Regions from separate parts of the Homo sapiens genome. Here region 1 is linked to region 2. The links are contacts of gene promoters, found by promoter capture Hi-C in human tissues and cell types (Jung and others, 2019). All regions are on one chromosome and are shown on one strand. Each heading gives the region's core, a stretch centred on a gene start or on the middle of the fragment in contact. The rest is flanking DNA. Distances are from core to core; before and after follow the strand shown.

Evidence for each region. Contacts are between HindIII fragments. The study calls those that stand out against the background at their distance.
Region 1: a fragment that was not itself captured here is called in contact with the fragment with the promoter of COL6A3 in region 2 in 1 of the 25 tissues and cell types used here (IMR-90 fibroblasts).

The regions. Positions count from the first base shown.
Region 1 is chr2:237,695,361-237,699,156 of GRCh38, forward strand. All of the region lies in intron 1 of LRRFIP1 (LRR binding FLII interacting protein 1), which reads left to right. Among named protein-coding and RNA genes, the nearest start is that of LRRFIP1, 70 kb to the left of the region's middle. RefSeq lists an enhancer at 1,724-1,933 and a silencer at 2,997-3,046. The HindIII fragment of the contact is 4,703 bases long and covers 1-3,796 here.
Region 2 is chr2:237,412,913-237,417,013 of GRCh38, forward strand. It overlaps COL6A3 (collagen type VI alpha 3 chain), which reads right to left and starts at 1,252. Exons shown (of 44, transcript NM_004369.4): 1 at 1,041-1,252. The HindIII fragment of the contact is 4,662 bases long and covers 1-4,101 here.

The DNA.
Region 1 (3,796 bases), core at 648-3,147, 280 kb after region 2:
CAGAACGGTGTTTCAGCGAAGTTGATTGGAGAGTTACCTGATTATAGTGAGATTCTTATCCAATCCCTACAGAATTGTGAGACTAAATGTTGGTGCAGCATGTTTGGTCCTCAAAAGGCAATGTCCAAGAGGAACTTCTTATCCCCGAAAAATCAGGCTGTGTGACTCAGCAAAGGAATTGTTTATGACTGGTTACTCATATGCCAGTGCTTCCAGAATATCTGCTCGTATTTAAAGGAGTGATCTTGAAGCCCCAGAGGCCATAATGTTTAGATTACCAACCTCTTCACCAATCAGTAAGTCCATTACATCTCACTACGTGTTAGACATGGGACAGGAGAAGAGGATTTTTATTACCTCACTGTTATTACTGGAGGCCGCCCAAATTTGTTTTTTGTTTTTTTTTTTTAAATAAAGAAGCTTGTTTTCATGGAATGGACTTACTAGAACTTTTATTATTCAGACTACCTAGATAAAATTAAGTAAATTCGTTTCTTTCTCCCAAATTAAATATTTTGACTACATGCAAGATTTAATCATTCAAAATTGCCATGTATTTGATTATAGACCAGTAGTATAATCCCCCTGCCCCAGGCCAGATTCCAAAACAATAAACCAAAACACACACACACCTGGCAACAGAAATTATATGTATTCCGAGACTCATTCATTCATTTTGGAAAGGGCCAGTGTTTCCAGTGGTTTCTCCTTGGGATTGTAACTTTACAACTTTAAAACTAGGTAAGTAGTTTTCCCTTGAATCTAAAGTATAACTACTTTGTAGTAGAGAAGTAATTTATCTTAAATCACTATAATGAAGATTTACTCTTAATTTTAACCAAAATGTTTCATTTATTTGTGTAATGAAGATGATCAAAGCAACGCCACCTGTGATCCTTCTGTCTTTTTTACTGTATGTGGCACGTGGCTGTGTGATTTTCCTAGGGAAAGGAGTGGGCTTTCCCTGTGGGTTGAGAACCTCTGTCCCCCTCCTCTGAAGTTTCCCCAGTTTTTCCTGCTTCTCTGCTAGGTGGGTGCCTTAGCATGCTTGTCTTCTCATCGTGCTTCTAAACTTCTCTGAACCGGATTTATACTCTTAGGTCAGTAGCTGTCAAAGAAGACACTAAGTAGTGAAAGTAGCTAATATTTACCAAACCCCTGCTGCGCCCACCTGGTGTTTTATGTGAAGGTCTTCTCTAACCCTTGCTGTAACCTCATGGGGAGCAGATCGTTTTCTCTCAGTTTTTCAGATAAAGAGGAAACTGAGGCTCAGAAAGGTCAGGGACTTTCCAAGCCCTCACAGCTAGTCAGCAGTGGAGCCAGTTCAGACCCAGGCCTGCTGACTCGGAACTGGTACTGATAACTGTCACCACTGTATGCAATGCTGCAGGCAGGGGCTGGCAGGTAGTAAATGTGCAAGATATAGCTGTGGCTGCCACGGCTGCTGCTGCTGCTTTTGTCGCTGTTGTCAGCTTTTCTTGGCAGCCCTGCTGTCTCATACCCCAGTATTGGGGCTGAAGGATTTCTTTTTACCAAAGCTGCCTCTTAGGACAGAAGTCCTTGTCTTGAATGCATACTGGGAAGTCTTCACTCTGTCAAACTTTTCTGTTCTCTGCCTGGTAATTTCCAGACAGAAGAGAACATTCAAAGAACGAACTTACTTTCCTTCTTTTTTTTTATTGAGACAGTCGTGCTTGATTGCCCAGGCTGGAATGCAATGGCACAATCTCAGCTCACTGCAACCTCCGTTTCCCAGGTGCAACCGATTCTCCTGCCTCAGACCTCTGAAGCAGCTGGGACTACAGGTGCCTGCCACCTCACCCGGCTAATTTTTGTATTTTTAGTAGAGATGGGGTTTCACCACATTGGCCGGGGTGGTCTCAAACTCCTGACCTCAAGTGATCCTCCCATCTCGGCCTCCCAAAGTGCTGGGATTACAGGCATGAGCCACCACACCCGGCCCAATGAGCTTTACTTTTCTACATAAGGAAAATAATGGTAGAAATGAAATAGCTGTGAAACTTGTTTTGCTATTTTTGTACCATGCTAAAATGTTAACTACTGCTTATGTCGGCATACACCTGAGAGCTGCTGTGATTTAAGCCTTTTTATTTTTCTGGGTATGATGTAACTCCTCCCCTACCTCATCCAAGTAGATAAGTTCATGGAGGATAAACATGACAGCTGCTGTTTCTTTTATAGCTGGTTCCAGGGAATATCCACTGAATATAGGAAAGATTGTCAGTTGCTGTGTGCTGCCCTGGTGCTGGTGGAGCTTTCAGCCTTCTTCTCAGAGGAAACAATTTAAATGTTTTTGTGAAACCCTAGAGGTCTGGGGTTTGTAGGACAGTCTTGAGCAGAGCAGGCAAAGGTGAAGGGAGTGGAGCCCAGACGTGCTGCCTGGAGGGAAACCTGTCACCTGGAGAGGAAACGGCACAGGGGAGGCCCAGCCGCCCTCGCCTCTCAGTCCCGCACGTCTCTGTTAGTGGTAGTCATGGTTCTTGTATTTCCATCATGTTGAGGCAATTGAAGGAAATATGAAGATTCATTCATCTCAGGAAAAGCAAGAAATGTATTAACAGCAAGAGTAGAAGTTCACTTGCATGGAAGATACTGTATAGCGTATTTATTTCTTAGCGCCAGTGGGAGTAGCTGCTAAGCCCAAGATTGTGTTGTGAGGTTTGAATAGGTCAATGTGTGAGTCATCAATAAAGTAACATCAATCATTTTGTTCCCGATTAATACGTTTGCTATTTTAGGATGCGAAGGACTTTAAAGAAGCTTATTATTCTGAAAAGCAAAGCCTGGAGATTTCCAGTAGCAAAACAGACACAGTCTGTGGACAATCTCAGTGTACAAATAATTCACCTCTGGCATGAACCCAAAGAATTTCAGAGGGGAAGGAAGCTCTTAAAGATTACGTCCCCTCCTACTTCTTTAATGAGGGCTGGGGTTCAAAAACCGAGTAACTTATCCAGGCTCACATAACTGTAGGTGACAGAGCCCAAGCTGGAGGCTGTGGCTGGGTCTTCAGACTCCTTTCTTGACAGTCTGCACCTGCATAAACTCAGACCTTTACTGAGAACAGTGCAGCCATAGCTGAGAGAAGCAGTCGGCACCCAGCATTTCTTGGACTTGTCTGCCAGGTCCCCCGAGTGCAGAGGACAGTGTGCTGGCTCCTGGGGCCTGTGGGCCCGGCCAGGAGCAGCCTTGTAAGCTAAAGCCTTCTTTGAAGGTGGCCGTCTTACCGTAAACTTTCATGGTAATTTCAGTCTACTCCATAATTTGTCTGAGTTAATTTTGATGGAAACATAGTGTTTTAAGTAATCAGTTAGGCTTTGATCTCTAACTTTATGCCATCCAAATCTTCATGATGGCCTGAGCACCAGGCACCCAGACCTGTGCTCTGAATTGTGCCGGGGCTGGTTCATACAGTGTGATGGAGAGACGAGAGATCCACACTGGAGTTCTGAAGCTGTGGTTCTCAACCCTGTCTTTTTACAAGTTCCTTAACTTCCTTACTAGCCTGAAATGAAATGCATAGGTGAGAAAGTCAACCAGCGCACATAATTTCGAGTCAATATAACATTTCCTTAAAAAATAAAATACAGGTAGTTTATAGTAACATAATAAGAATTTTGATATAGAAATACTCAAGACCAAGTACACCAGCAGTTGAATGCAGTGATGAGACCTGCACACACCTGTGCCTGGCGTCACAGGGAGGCTGACACAGGTGTGTTGCACTGAGACCCACACACCACCCCTCATGTTGCTGTCTATGACGTGACATTCT
Region 2 (4,101 bases), core at 2-2,501:
TGGGGTCTGCACCGGCCTCGAAACTGGCTCCTGGGGCTTCCTGTGGAAGCAGATTTTTCTTTAACCACTCCCTAGTCCCTCCCAGTGACCCCACCCATACTTCAATACCCGTTCATTATCCAACATAGTAGGCCCCTTGAAACAGGTTCCCCAAACAGGCTGGCCACTGTCAGCGAACGTGTCCATCCTCAGCAAGAGAGGGCCCGAGCCCCACCCTGCATCCTCCGGGCCAGAGAACAGCCCTCGGGGCCTCCCAGCTCGGCACTGGCCTCACCTCTGTGCAGCATGGGCTGGCCCTGCAGCCCCAGGGGCCCTGCCTTAGACACTCAGCATGCTGCCCAAATGCCCAATTCCTTCTTCTCCTCTGACCCCTGCAACTCCTTTAAGCAACCCCAAGGGACAAAGTCTCCAATAGAGACTTCAGGTTCCTGGAAAGACGAAAGCTTGACGGCAATGACTGAGCGACCCTTTACTTGGCCCTGATCCTGAGCACCAGAGTTACTCCAATCTTGTGAAAGCAGCAAATGTGCTCCACCAGGACCTTCCCATGGGCGGCCCTGGGCAGAAAACCCATGCAGGTTGTTGCACCCTGACCTAGTGTCACCACCCAGAGAGCTCAGAGAACATCTCCCAGCGGAGCCGCCCGGCAGGGAGCTATGCTAGTCCTCAGCAAAGACGCTTCTGCAAACAAAGCGGATCCCGAATGGGTTTTAGAAGGCGGCAGTAACTTAAATAAATCATGGGCCGAAACACACTGCCGCCCGGAATGCACAGGGCGCGTGTAGCAGCCACAGACACGCGGTGGAAAAGTGCTCACACTCTTAGGCAATCATGACCTTAACCAATTTAAGGAAATCCCATTGCCATAAAGTGAGAAAGAAAAATCAGCGGAATCTTCCAGAGACCTAAAACATGTACAGAAAACTGGCGATCAGCATGAACGTAAGAGCCACTAACGCTACCTAGAAAGGATCACTTCAGGTTAAGAGCATTTCCTTCTAGCCCCAAACCTGGAAAAACAGAAGAGAAATCACACTTACCCCTGAGCAAACCTGAAGGCGTGTGTCCCTGGGCTCCTCGATTCAATTAGGTTTGAATAGGATGCATACTTTTCCCACTCACTGCGTCTCTTTTTCTTTTTGCAGCCTTTCTCCACCAAAAAAGTGGAGACTCAGAGCTGCGGAGGAAAACTCTTGCAGTCCTTGCAGGAGGCTGGAGCCCAGGAGAACTGAACGGCCTTTGGTGGAAGACTGAGCTCCAAACTGGACTGGGGCCAGGGATACCAGTCAGGGCTTCCTCCAGCTCCTCCTCCTCCTCCTCCTCCCTCCCGGACCCCTCCTCTCCCCCTCCTCACTGCAGAACTGACCCAAAACTGTAAATGAAACCAGACTCCTCCACTCTGTTTCTTCTGGCCCCCGCTCAGGCTGATGTCACCCTCTGAATTCTGTCTTCACCCTACAAGCGTTTAGCTGGACTCCTGCAAGCCCCAACTCTTAAAAAAAAAAATTGACCACTCCTACTCGTCACCTTTTGGGCTGGGCCCTTGGCGTCAAAAAGAATAAATTTTGGAATTTCTTCGTGGGTATCCATGGTTTTCCTGCAATGTTTTCCAACACCATCTGAAAGGAAAACAGGAAATGCAGTCCCCCGCTTACCCTCACCACACCCTCCCATTTCTTCTTGAAGTTTCTGAATTGAGACTTCTACTAATAACTTCCCCCTTCAAATAGAAAAACCAGCAATTAAAATCGCCTTGGTTTTCTGTTAACCAAAGCTCTGTTCACCGGCAAAAAAAAGGAGGCTACATTTCTCTTAATTTCTATATCTAATGATTCTGATTGTGGCGCTTATAGGCCCATTCTAGGCACAGACGGGGTAATAAAAATGGTTATCTTGCCAAAGCTTCGGGAAAATACTTGAGTAAGAACTTCTGTTTCTAGAAAGCTTTGCACATTTCAAAACACTTCAATATACATTCTCTCCTTTATCACAAACATCAACACCCTAAGCCCTTTTAAATAGAAAGATGTCTTCTTTTATTAGGTGAAATTGTGGTCCCATTTTACAGATGAAAGAAACAGGCTGGGCACGGTGGCTTATGCCTGTAATCTCAGCACTTCGGGAGGCTAAGGCAGGCAGATCACAAGGTCAGGAGTTGGAGACCAGCCTGGCCAACATGGTGAAACCCCTACTAAATCTCTACTAAAAATATAAAAATTAGCCAGGCATGGTGGCAGGCGCTTGTAGTCCCAGCTATTTGGGAGGCTGAGGCAGGACAATTGCTTGAACCCAGGAGGCAGAGGTTGCAGTGAGCCGAGATGGCGCCACTGCACTCTAGCCTGGGCAACAGAGTGAGACTCCAAAAAAGAGAAAAAGGAAAGAAAGAAAAGAAATGAAAAGAAAAGAAGAGAAGAGAAGAGAAGAGAAGAGAAGAGAAGAGAAAAAAGAAAAAAAGAAAAGAAAAGAAGAAAAGAAAAGAAGTTCCGAGAGAGTAAGTGACATCGTCATTGTCCAGTCTGGGTTAGTAACAGAGCTCAAATGACAACCCAGCTTTGGCCATCCCCAAACTTCTCACTGCTCTCCCATCATGTGGTCCTTATGAAAAGTCCATTAATGTGAAATATCAAGAGACATCCGAAAGGTTCTTTTTGACTGAGAGATCCTTCCAAACCAAGTTTGAAGAGCAAAGAAATCATTAACTCCTTTCCATGGATTATCTCCCTCCAATTTAGGGAAGAAAGGAGACAGCACCCCAGAGAGAATGCCTGCTCCCCTCTGCAGCTCCAGGGCTCCCTTCCTCTCCCATAAAGAAGCCCAACCCATCTCTAAACCAAAGGGCTCACTTGCAGAGCACTGGAGTAGGGAACAAGGATGGAACCTGAATTATGGGGTTCTTAGGTGAAGACACGCTGAGCAGAGGCTCCGAGTATAGAACCGCGCTGCCTGCATGACATGTAGAAGGACAACACGCCCCTCCAGCGGCATCCAATTCTCTGCCCTCATCCTCTCTGCACAGTGCAGGCGTTGACTCAAGCCCCTACAGAGACCGGGGATACTTGCTGCCACCCCCTTGGTTAGAGTCTGCAACTTCAGCACTAAGGAGGACTATTTCTCCCAGAACATTGTCTGCTGCGAAGAAGACAATCTTTGATTACAACCCCATGCTCCAAGCAGCTCAGCAAACTGAGGTTAACTGAACAAGCACGTTTTAGGTGTTTCCACTCCACGGTTTCTTTCAAATACAAATACACTCTTTTTCGCAAAATCGCTAGGCAGATGCATTCCTTGGTATTGAAAGTTTCTATTACAGTCGACCTCGTATCCATGGGTTCTGCATCCATGGATTTAACCAACTGTGGTTCAAAAATGCTTTTTAAAGTAGATGATTGCATATATACTGAACATGTACAGATGTTTTTCCTTGTCATCATTCTCTAAATGACACAGTATAACAACTGTTTACATGGCATTTACACTGTATTAGGTATTATAAGTAATCTAGAGATGGCTTGAAGTACACAGAAGGATGTGCATAGGTTATGTGCAAATACTACACCACCTTCCTTCAGGGATTGGGGCCTCTGTGGATTTGGGTATCCATGGAGGTTCCTGGAATCAGTCCCCCATGGATACCAATGGATGGCTATATTTAAACAGCAAGGGCAAGAAATCATTTAGAACATGATTTAAAGAAATAAAAGCTCCCATTCAGTAGGAAACCATAATCTTTAATATTTAGCTGCACCTACTCATTGATGATCCAGATCCTCTTCAGCACTGCCCATGGCTCTAGAAACTTCCAGAAACTCATGGTAAACCTCCCTTGTGCTAACAAGAGAGAATTTGGGTTCTATGGCAGCTTTCTTCCTTAATCACCACTATGTGGATTCCCACTTACATTTCCAGTTCCTCTCTGCTACCTGATCCCAGGAGGAAAACAACCTCAAAAGTTTGAGCTGCCCTAAACGTCCTGAGTCCTGGATCTAGGCCCGGCCATCGGTGGGACCTCATAAGTCACTGAATCTCTCAGTTCACCTCATAAGTCACGGAATATCTCAATTCTGTTTCCCCTTCACTGCAGGCTTGAACTGGCTCTTGGCA